Regions from separate parts of the Homo sapiens genome. Here regions 2 and 3 are each linked to region 1. Evidence: promoter capture Hi-C in 16 types of primary human blood cells and fetal thymus (Javierre and others, 2016). All regions are on one chromosome and are shown on one strand. The core of a region is centred on a gene start or on the middle of the fragment in contact, and the rest is flanking DNA. Distances in the headings are between cores, read along the strand shown. Region 1 holds the start of EVX1 (even-skipped homeobox 1). Region 2 overlaps HIBADH (3-hydroxyisobutyrate dehydrogenase). Region 3 overlaps HIBADH (3-hydroxyisobutyrate dehydrogenase).

The links. The method cuts DNA at HindIII sites, captures the fragments that hold promoters and counts their contacts. A CHiCAGO score of 5 or more calls a contact.
Region 2: a fragment that was not itself captured here is called in contact with the fragment with the promoter of EVX1 in region 1 in 1 of 17 cell types (M2 macrophages); the score reaches 6.1 in M2 macrophages.
Region 3: a contact is called between a fragment that was not itself captured here and the fragment with the promoter of EVX1 in region 1, in 1 of 17 cell types (M2 macrophages). The highest score is 5.7, in M2 macrophages.

The regions. Positions count from the first base shown.
Region 1 is chr7:27,241,086-27,244,904 of GRCh38, forward strand. EVX1 (even-skipped homeobox 1) reads left to right here and starts at 1,717. Exons shown (of 3, transcript NM_001989.5): 1 at 1,717-2,372. The coding sequence starts at 1,946. EVX1-AS (EVX1 antisense RNA) reads right to left here. Exons shown (of 4, transcript NR_120507.1): 2 at 830-925; 3 at 464-556; 4 at 344-365. RefSeq lists an enhancer at 1,335-2,212. The HindIII fragment of the contact is 5,233 bases long and covers 1,368-3,819 here.
Region 2 is chr7:27,601,523-27,605,341 of GRCh38, forward strand. The region is part of intron 4 of HIBADH (3-hydroxyisobutyrate dehydrogenase); the gene reads right to left. It overlaps LOC107986699 (a long non-coding RNA gene), which reads right to left. Exons shown (of 2, transcript XR_001744911.2): 2 at 872-3,819. Among named protein-coding and RNA genes, the nearest start is that of TSL, 13 kb to the right of the region's middle. RefSeq lists an enhancer at 1,115-1,875. The HindIII fragment of the contact is 3,461 bases long and covers 1-3,429 here.
Region 3 is chr7:27,554,578-27,558,396 of GRCh38, forward strand. The region is part of intron 4 of HIBADH (3-hydroxyisobutyrate dehydrogenase); the gene reads right to left. Among named protein-coding and RNA genes, the nearest start is that of TSL, 59 kb to the right of the region's middle. The HindIII fragment of the contact is 1,813 bases long and covers 1,311-3,123 here.

The sequences.
Region 1 (3,819 bases), core at 467-2,966:
TAACCCTATGGATAGGAAGATGGAGGAGAGAAGCAAAGAAGGAGAAGAATACAGAAAGAGAAAAAGGAGGAGAGAAAAGTAGGAGATAACAGATAAAAAGGTCACGGAAGAGGACTTACCTGTAAAAGCTGGGGCTTTGCTAGGGACACAGAAAGGAGGGAGGTGCTGGGCTGCCCTTTGCAGCTGGCTGCCTAGGGCTAGAAGCTCTTCGGGAGGAGGCGGAGAAAGGGGGGTTGAGCATAGAAGGTGCCCACCTCCTGCTCTCAGCAATGTGGGGATAGACTCAGCCCACCCACCTGGCCCCAGCACACTTGCTTGGAGCTCAAAAAGGGTCAGTTTGAAGGAGTTTTATACCAGCTTCTTCCCTGGGAGAGGAGCCAAGAGAGGCCTATGGCAGCTTCCAGATATTAAGTTCCACAACCCCTGCCCCCACCTCCAGCCCTTCATCAGAGTCCCTACTTACTTGCTGTTTTAGGGCATTTTCAGCGACTTCACTCTCTTCTACCTCAAACGCCATCCACTTTTGGAGACAGGTACCACTGCCCCTAGGCAGGGACTTGGGAGAGGACCTTATGAGTCAAACCTCTATGAACCCCAACCTTTTTGTACTCGGGGAGGCTGAACCCCTGCCCAAAATAGCGCGGTGAAAGCTACTGCCTTCTCCCAAGTAGGGGCCTCCAGTACTGCCACAGCAGGGGCCGCATTCCTGGCGCCTCTTCATTCGAAAAACCTCTTTCCAGGAGACTTCGCTGATTCTGAACGAATACTTTAAAATATGGGCAAGGGAAAAAAAAAGACAACTCTTAGAAACTCTCCCCACCCAACATACCTGGAGTGCAGGCGAGGTCCAGGCAAACGGGAAAGCGACTTCTTGTACGAATAGCCATCTCAAGATGAAGCCAGGCTGTGGAAAACTTAAGGCCATCTAGATGGGAAGGAGGTATTTAAAAGAAATCAGCACACACTCTTACAGAAGCCAAGGCGGGTCTTTAAATTAAAAAATAATAATAAGGTATTTATTTCTTGCCCCTTAGGGAAGAAAAATAGCAAAGTTTGGTTCGCAGGAGTAAGGAGACAGAGGTGGGTAGGGAGAGGGAGGAGAAAAGAGGAAAAGATGGCCCAGCCTCAAGCTCTCCAGTCAACTTGGGGCGGGGGAATACATTTTTCCGTAGCTTGTAAAAAGACTTTTCAGCCAGTTTGAGGTTAGCTGCCAGGGGCAGACAGTTGTAATAATGCCGACAGAATTGAGGCTTGTAAGCCGGGCTTCACACTTCTAAAATGCAGTTATGGATTCTTTCATCGGTGTTAGATCAAGGCACCAAGTTAAGAAAACAAAAGTCAAAACAACAATAAAAGAAAAAATCAAAAGCTTATTTAATTACCGAGTCCCGCTGCCCCTGCGGAACTCGCCGCGCGCGTTAAGCTCTCTTTTCTTTCTGCGGAATTCCATTTGCATCCCCTCTGCCTGGGTGTCTCCCTCTCTCAGTGTGTGTGTCTCTCTGTCTGTTTTCACACTCTCCTCCCCAATCGAGCGAGGCCCACACCTGGCGCATCACTGCCGAGCCATTAGCTGCGGGTTTCCTTTCATCTTCGCTGTGGCAGACGTTTCTATTTATCCACTTGCGCTCGCCGAGTGGCGTCACCAGCGGTACTGTAATGACGATTGCAGCAGGAGGATGACAGCTTAGAAAGAAGAGGGCAATGGGGCTTCCTCCCAGAGGCGGTGCGGCACAGAGGAGCGCTCGCTTCACAAGGTGACCCTAGCTCCCACCGCCACCGCCGCGGTCGCGGTCCAGACCGCGCTCCAGCAGCTCCGCGCCCTCCCAGGCACCCGGCCTTTCTTTCTCCCTCTTGCAACCAAGATCCGTCCGGCCGCTGGAGACCCAGGGAGCCGGGGTTAGGAACTCACTTGGGGCTTTCCCCTCCCCCACCGGAGAGCCCCGGGATGGAGAGCCGAAAGGACATGGTTGTGTTTCTGGATGGGGGTCAGCTTGGCACTCTGGTTGGCAAGAGAGTCTCAAATTTGTCCGAAGCCGTGGGCAGCCCGCTGCCGGAGCCGCCCGAGAAAATGGTGCCCCGTGGTTGCCTGAGCCCTCGGGCCGTCCCTCCGGCCACCCGGGAGCGCGGCGGGGGAGGCCCGGAGGAGGAGCCGGTAGATGGACTCGCAGGCAGCGCGGCGGGGCCGGGCGCCGAGCCCCAGGTAGCTGGGGCGGCCATGCTCGGCCCAGGACCCCCGGCCCCCTCAGTCGACAGCCTCTCCGGACAGGGGCAACCCAGTAGCTCGGACACCGAGTCGGATTTCTATGAAGAAATCGAGGTGAGCTGCACCCCGGACTGCGCCACCGGGAACGCCGAGTACCAGCACAGCAAAGGTAGCCACCGTGCCCCTCCGCTCCCCGGGCCTCCCACTGCGCCCACCCTTCACTTCGGCGCAGGCCAGGAGGAAGACACTCCCTTCCCCTAGGGCAGGATGGCTGGGGGGACCCACCTGAGCAACTCTCTCTGCTATCTGCGTTCTGGCGGGGGTCTCCTACTGTGTTCTGGCATTGGCGGGACTGAGGGTGACAGCAGTGCCTTGAGTGCGGGGTGCTGAGGGGGCGGATGCAAGTCCTGGACTTGGGGGATTCGAAGCTCACCCCAAGCACCCAGTGTTTCAACTGCTCGGGGAATGCTTCAATTGCTCGGGGAAGACACTTTCCCCAGGCGAGGGCAAGATCAAACGCCGATCCGGGCAGTTTGTGGCTGGCAGGGTGTAAGAGGCATGGAGGCGCGGAAGCCAGGAGTCCATAAAGGACCGTAAAATTGCGGCCCACTTGGGCAGCCCGGGTGCTGCAGCCCTCCGACCAGTTTGCACGTCGGTCAGAGGTCCAAATTACCTTGTCACTTCCCGGGCTTCGCGGCGCCAGGTCGGAAATGGTCCCAATGGTCTAATTGCCTTTGGTCTCCGGTTGCATTTGAAAAGGCAGAGATCGGGTCCTCCCCCCTTCCCCTTTCCTTCCTAGTCCCACTTCTCCACCCAAAGGAAAAGGAGCTGCAGGGGGCTGGAGCCCCACCCTTCTCAGAGGTAGGCCCAAAGGGGGGCTGGTTTAACTGGAGAACCCCTCCCCACCAAAGGCTAATGGGAAAGGGGTGGATAGCCCGGAAGGGAGTTTCCCTCTGTGCCAACAATCACCTCCCCAGAAGGGGGTAGAAAACTGGGCGCGGGTTGGTGGGGGGGAGGAGAGGGGAGCCCACCAGCAGACACTCCTCCACAGAACTGTAGGAGTGGGTGGAAAGAGCCTGGGGGCGGGGGGGAGAAAGACCACCCCCTGGTCTTGGCAGCCAACGCCTTGTTGAATACCTGCACCTACCCCTTACTATCTTATCACCGATTTCACCCAGCCTCCTTCCCATAACCCTCAGAACAACCTGGACTCCACTCACATATACTAAGGTAATAAATAAGATACTCAACATGCATTCTCACTCCAGCCCTGCAATACACGGAACCTAGTACACATTCCCACACCTGTTCTGGCAGCCCGTCACACATAAGAGCAAGGAAACTCTCTGAATGCCCAGCATACTACAATGCACTTGACCCAGAGTTTACAACCCTCTAGCACAAAGGTGCATCTCAACTCATGTGCCTGTCAGAAGTGCACGCCCTGCCAACGGGAGGCAGAAATCTCACCTATGCTCCAGGGCAGGTGGGAAGGGCGGCTGGGAACCCCTGTACCCAGGATGCCTTAGAGGAAGGGAAGGCCTCCCCAAAGACCTCTACCTACCCAATCAAGGGCAGGCCCTTATTTTCCCTTCTTGGGTTCCCCAGAGGCCGCA
Region 2 (3,819 bases), core at 449-2,948, 360 kb after region 1:
TTCTCATTGATATTTTGTAAAGGTCAATTTTGGGTATTTAAAAAGTTATAAAAGTGCATTTAACTGGGTAATGTTGGAAAATAAAAATTTAAAAATTTAAGGTAAAGGGGAAAATACGTAAAGCTGTCCTGTGTACTCATATTATGATTAATAACTAAATAAGGTATTCTGGCTTTTTAATAATCCAATTGCTAAAAGACCTATGAAGGATATTATGTTAGAAGGTTAAAAATTCTGGTTTTCACTTGTTTATACATGTTTGCCCTTTTTGTTCCTTTAGTTAACTAGATTAAAGCACTTAAAACCAAAAATAAAATTACTTTAGATTACCTATGTGAACTTTTTTTGGTTAGCTAATAATTCTTTCTATATTTTGATTGTGGGTATTGTGTGGGAGTGGGGTCATTGAATGGTGTGATATCGATAGAACAAGAAAAAGTATTTTTCTCTATTTTGTTTTTAAATGAAACAAACCAAAGCCTTTTAGTTATTCTAGCAACCCAAAGAAACTCCAAACTTGAATGTATTAGTCTCCTGCAATAATATTGAAAATCCTCTACCTAAAATGTCTTATTTTTGCTAAATCAGGCTAATTCTTAAAATTGCATATTGTCCTATTGTGCCTTCCTGAGACTCAACTTCCTCACTGAAAAAAAAAAAAAGAGGATAATCTGCATTTCATGGGGATGCTATAAGGATGAAATGTTTTAAAATACAGAAACAACCCAGTGTGATAAACTGACACACAAAAGGTACTTAATTAATCAGTTGACTTCTAGAAAATTCTGCACTATAAAACTTTAAGGTGATTAGAGATGTTTTGAATCTACTTATTGATAAGGCTGTGTGCATTTTCACACTTTCCACTCCGTTAAGACTATCAGATTTTATTCCAAGAAAGAGTGCAGGGAAGAAAAAGCAGCAGGCAAAAACTGAAACAGAAAAACAACATGGATGTTGTAGCTCTTACTTTCATTCTCTTATTTTTAAAAATAAACTTGACTTTTCATCCCTCTTGTTACCTATTTTTCAAAGAAATACAAGTTTCCTTAGTCTTTTAGTTTTTAGAAGCCATGTTTAGAGCTAAGCTGATATACTATGCCAAAAGTACACTTAAAACTGGGTATCTTCATTGCTGAACGTTTTACATTACAAGGCGTCAGTCTTTAAAAAAAATTTTTTTAAACCTGAAGATTACTGACAAATAAGCATTCTCTAACAATTATGAATTATTTCACATCATTTTAAGGTTTCACTTGATCAATTTTACATGCAAACGTACTTTCTCATTATTTACTCTTTCCTACTATGTTTCGCATGCCAAAAAAAATCCACTAATAGATTATAAACTCTGCTTGCCAGTTCCCTTCTCAACAACCTCCATCCATCCCAGCACCCACCCATTCCCAAAGAGATACCCAGCATTGTTTATGTGGAGTTGGAAACAATACACTCCCCACTGCTGGTTAATTTACATCAGATACAGCCAGGCCCAGGAAGCAAAGTGCCTGTCGTTTTCACCCCTTTTTTCTTCTCCCTTGCTTGCTCATGCCCCCTCACCCCTTTTAATTTAAATTACTCGTTTTAACTTAAAAACTTCTGGATGTTTTATTACCTTGGCAGCTTTTTCTCTGGATTGACTAAAAAGGTAAGTTTAAACAGTTTTTGTCAGTTAATATCTCTTCTTTTTTTTATATTTGTATCTGACAACCAGAATCCATAGTGTTAAAACTGCAATGATGATGCTGCTGCATTTTACCAGGCTAACTCAGGTTGGGCACAATTTCATTGTTTTTTTGTAACCTAAACATACAAAAAACAAAAATGTTACTTTGCATGCAGTTAAATTGGTTGTTCTCTAATCATCTCTATCTCTACAATCTTTATGTGCTCCTAAGGGATATAAAAAGATTTTATGTTAGGTTTTGTTGTTTTCATTCTTTATTTTTTTAACCATAAAATATTACACATGCAGATACAGTAAGTCATTGTTTCCTTGCCTATATATTTATAGAAAATTACTAAAAATCTAGTATTAAAAATACTATAAAGCCAAAATGCCAGCTTTTCTTTGAAAGCCACATTAACTGTGTCCTAATCAGTTTTTCTAAATTTCAGATATTTAAAAAGAATTAAATATAACATCTTTAATAACATGTATAAAGCCATTTCAAAGACTGAAATCCTAACTCTCAAATTTCACTAAATTAAATTTTATCTAAAACCAAGTAAGTTAAACATATTCCACTGTACATTAAAAATAAGATATGCAAAGACTCCCCAGTGTGTGCAAATGATACCAATAATTAAGAATCACATTTCGAGCTTTAAAACACTTCTATCTAAAAGAATCCAAAAGTGTGAGTAAATTGCTTTGACTGCTAACATTTACTTTCTGTAGTACTTTCTCTCCCCTTTTCATCCTAGCTCTCACCCCCACACCAACACACATACATAAAATAGATCATTTAGGCCAGTGGTATTTCAGTACATCGCCCCTCCTCCTCCACTTAGACAGTATTGCCTTTTATATCTATGTGGAGGTTCCCATGGCAACACTCACTTACACCAATACTATTTCCAACTGAAATGAGAGAATCCAAAATCTAAATGCTTCATTACTAAATAACATATACCCTAACAAGTAAGAATTGTTTTTCTCATTATCATTATTTTTCAATGTTTTTAGATTTCTGGAATTTCAGCAAAAAAATCATTTTAATATTATAGAAATAACTAGAAAAACAGTCATTGTAGGCAACTATATGTATGCATATCATTACATGAGATTTGTATGTGCTTACTCTTACTGCATAAAATTGATATGCTGAGCCAAGAAACCTCAATTATAATTATGAATAGTAAGTATAATTTTTACTAGTCCAGTTTACTCTATCAAATTTGATTTTTTTTTTTTTAATGTTGGCTACATAGCTCACAAAAGACCCTGGTGAGAAATTCTAACACAACAAGCCAAGAAGCAATTCATGGACAGCAGGAGGCAATTCCAGAACACAGGCATAATCTATAAAGAGAAACCTCTACAGCTTTTTGATGTTAAATAAGTAGAAATATTAGCATACAACAAAGCTAAGAAGCAGACTGTTGCATCAAGTTTAAAAGTAAAAATTTCAGGGTCAAATGTCATGAGTACCTTTGTCTAGACTACTTTCAAAAGTGAAATTTCCTAATTTTTAAAACCAAAAGGTCTCTTTTGGTAATACTGAAGGGTGCATATATTTAGTTTTAGTACAACACACATTCTCATCAAGTTATTCAAAATATAAGGGAGGGGAGGGTTTTGCTTTTAAGTGGGAACATCAAGGTGGGAGGTCAAACATTTACTTTGAAAACATATACATTTCTTAAAACAGGTTGTGCACATTAAGAAGCCTCAGAAGAGGCAAGAGTATAAAATGAGTAGCACTAAGCTTTTTGCTAAATGATCAAAGCTAAGCATTAAACATCACTCTGCATGGTGAATACATTTTTTAAAAGAATAAAAATCAATAGAATATACACTGAGCTTTATTTATTCTGACAACATATCCTATCACCTGGATAGCTGTATTAAGTAATTTAATTGTTTCTGCTACAGTTTATTAACTTATATTTATGGGTTCATAAAAATAGAACATGAATACGTATTTTAATGAAAAAAATCACACTTTTATAAAATTTATAATGAGCCTTTTTTTATTGTGCTTTTTACATTATCACTGTTTTAAAATGAGCTGATTCAAAAGACTATAAAGACTCCCTGAAAAACAGTACAGGAAACTCAAGAATTTACTTTCCCAAAAACAGCTTTTAAGACAT
Region 3 (3,819 bases), core at 967-3,466, 310 kb after region 1:
GGCATAATAATCATGTGCCCTCTATTTTAAAGAGAACTGATTATTCACATGAGTTCTGTTATAACTTTGAGGGTAGGTATACAGAAGTAATGGCTGTCAGAGGAGAGAGGGAAGAGAGTAAGAAGAAATAAGCAAAAGGCAAGATGATAACCCGGCAGCAAACAGTAGAAAACTGGGGACAGCAGAAAACTAAAGATTAAGAGAAGGCTGTGCTAATAAGCTACACTTGGCTAACCAGGAATTATCTCTTTCATGTGAAAATCCCTTGAAAATGTGGACTCTCATATTTTGGGGTTGGGGTACAGTTGAAGAGGGTGCCAACTCCTACAATGAGTTGAGTATGGTCCACTCTGCCATTCTTGGTAGCCCCTCAGCCAATGCATAGCCTTTTGCAACCATTTCTGATGGTGCATTAACATAACATTAAGGAAAGGTAACTAACCAGATTTGCGTGAGGACAAAGGACACAGTACTGCTTGTATAGAGTTTGAATGCCATGTGACTGTTTCCTTATTGAGCAGAAAAACACTCCTCTGGGAAGTAGTTTAAAAATTATTTTATTTTTGGTCTACTTCAAGGACTAAAACCTTGGAATAAAATTTTTACAGAATTCTGTATATGTGATAAAGGCAACCACTGCTTAATGGTGGTAATTTAAGTGGGGAGAACTGTTCTTCCGGTTTCATGAGAACCAATCACAGCAAAAGGAACATTTCTTGCTCTACTTTTTTTTTTTTTTTTTTTTTAAATAAAGACTAAGCCAAATACATAAACCTATTATGGATAATGGCCTTCTCCCTCCTCAGCCCTTAATACAACCCACCTCCTGACTACATACAACTTGTTTCAGTAGAACACTGAGTACAAAGACAAGACTCAACTTGTCAGTTCCAAGTCTAGAGTCAAAATTTCAACTATCTATCAGCTAATTCTTACTACTGGCCCTCAGAAGCACAATGAATTCAACATGTCCAAACACCTTTTGTCCCCCTACCCTCTCCTCAAATAGACCCCAAATTGGTCTCCTGCATGTCCATTCAGTTATGATGTTACCATTACCCACTTATGGCAGCATTTCCAAATTTACAGTGATATAAATGTATAGATATGTATTATTTATTTGGATCACTTGAAAGACAATTCAATACTATGTCAAGAAGTTCAGGCATATAAAAAAAGTACCCAGCCAGTCAAAATCTAGAGACATGATTCATGCAGTATTTGCCAAAGTAGAACAGAAACAAATCCTCGTAAAAATCATGTCTATCTTCTCAAGTCAAATATATATGCATGCAAGTGTGTGTCCTGAAAGCTTAACCTGTTAGGGTCACATGATCAAGGGTAGCCAACTGCATTTCTTTCCTTGCCCTTTCTCTTCAAGGGGCATACTAAATAAACACCTTCAAGTGTATTCTGAAAACAAAATTTAAAGATAGTCGTGAATTAGAGAATACAGAAAGGATTTTAACTTAATGCAAAAAACATTCCACTTTGATAAATTACAGTATTTGAAAAAACGTCCACCATAAGTTACTAATTCTAAGACTCAGTTTTCTCACTTGTTAATAATATCTGCTTCGACAGGACTGTGAAAGACTACATAAGCAATGCTTGATACACGATAGTCATTCTGTGTCCTCTAGAAAAGTCGAGTATCTTTTTACATAGTTCACTGGGTTTCCTCTTCAGTAAACTGCCTATCATGTTTCTTTACTTTTCTCCTGATTCTTGGTCTTTTTCTTGTTAATTATAGATTTTATGTCTACTCTGTTATATATTTTGCAAATAATTTCCCTCAGTCTGTTGTTGCCTTTTAACTTTTCTTTTTGTCACAAAGATGTGTGTGTGTTTTCAATTCTTGGATCTGTTAATTTTTTAATGGTTTTTTATTATTTGTCTTGCTTCAGAAGGTTTTCCTCATTCTAAGATTTTGAAAGAATTCTCTTAGACATTTCTTTGGCCTTCTTACACATTTTTTAAAACAATCAGTTATTTAATCCATCTGCTATTTATTTTCAGTGTATGGGGTGAAGTAGGGATCTGCTCCCCACAATGAATTGTCCTAACACAATTTATTAAAGAATTCATTTCCCCACTGATCTGATTGCCTTACTCAGATTCTAAGTACCTATACATACAAAGGTCTGTTTGGGGACTTAACTCTGTCTCCCAGTCTGTCTGTTCTTGAACAAATATGATGCTGTTTTAATCACTGTAACTTTATACTGTGTTCTGATATTTATGGAGTCCTAATTGTCTTATTAAAAAATTTTTTTGGGCAGGTGCCTATAATATTTGGGAGGCCAAGGCAGGAGGATAGAGGATAAAGGAGGATAGAAGAGGATAGAGCCTGAGCCCAGGAAACCTGCCTGTGCAACATGGTGAGACCCTGTCTTGACAAAAATTTTTAAAATTAGCTGAACATGGTAACACATGCCTGTGGTCCTAGCTACTCAGGAGGCTGAGGCAGGAGGATCACTTGAGCCTAGGAGGTTGAGGCTATAGCGAGGCATGTTCACACCACTGCACTCCAGCCTGAACAACAGAGTGAGACCCTGTCTAAAAAGGAAAAAAAAAAAAATTGGCATTTTTTATTTACTTATTCTCCCAGATGAGCTTAAGGTTTTTTTTTTAAGAAATAACACGGTTTTGCATTACAATTTATATATTATCTCAAGAGAATGGACATGTTTACATGCTTTTCCAAGCAGATAAGTGGTGTCTCCATTTATTCAGATCTTATTTTGCCTTTATAGTTTTGTCATCTTCCTCATATAGGTCTTACACATTTCTTGTTAAATTTGTTAAGTACTATTCTAGACCTCAGAACCAAGAATAATATTAAACTATATTATATAGTTACATATTGTCTTAGTCTGTTTTGTGCTCCTATCACAGAATATCACAGACTGGGAAATTTATAAAGAGCAGAAATGTATTTTTTCACAGTTTTGGAGGCTGGGAAGTCCAAGATCAAGGCACCAACAGGTTCAGTTGTCTGGTGAGGGCTGCTCTCTGTTTCCAAGATGGCAGCTTGTTGCTGTATCCCCTCCAGAGGGGAGGAACATTGTGTCTTCACATGGCAGAAGACAGAAGGGCAAGCAGAACAAAATCCCTCCATTAAGCTTCTTATAAGGGGGCCTAATCCCATTCAGGAAAGGAGGAACCCTCATGACCTAATCACCTCTTAAAGACCCCACCTCTTAATATCTTTACATTGGCCAGTAAGTATTAACACCTGAATTTTGGAGAGGACACATTCAAACCGTAGCACAATATACAAGAACTAAGTATTACTTGAAGACTACATAAGATTTGTCTTTTAAAACCATCTTTACTTTGTTCCTTCTTAGTAATGGCTGTCTGAATATCTCTGGTCGTTGGAAGTTTACTCATGTGTTTACCTCTTCTTGAATCAATTTTGGTAACATTTTTTTCTAGAAAATCACCTATTTCTTCTGGACTTTCCATTTTTCTGCCCACAAACTTATAATTCCTTATTTCATCCATATCTGTGTGCAATCTCTTATCTTATTCTTGATGCTTATGGTTTCTATTTTTCTTGGTGAAACTTCTTAAAGATTTGTCTTCTGAAAGACCAGTTCTTGGTTTTATTCAATGACTCTATTTTTCTTGTTGTTAACTAATTTCCTAATTAATTCCAATTACCACATTTGTCACATTTCTCTTCTTATTTAAATAGATTTATATTTGTTTTATTCTAGTTTATTGAGTTTTAGAGGATCTGCTTATTTTCCATTTTTTGGGGGGACAGGGTCTCGCTCGGTCACCCTGGCTGGAGTGTGGTGGTACAATCTC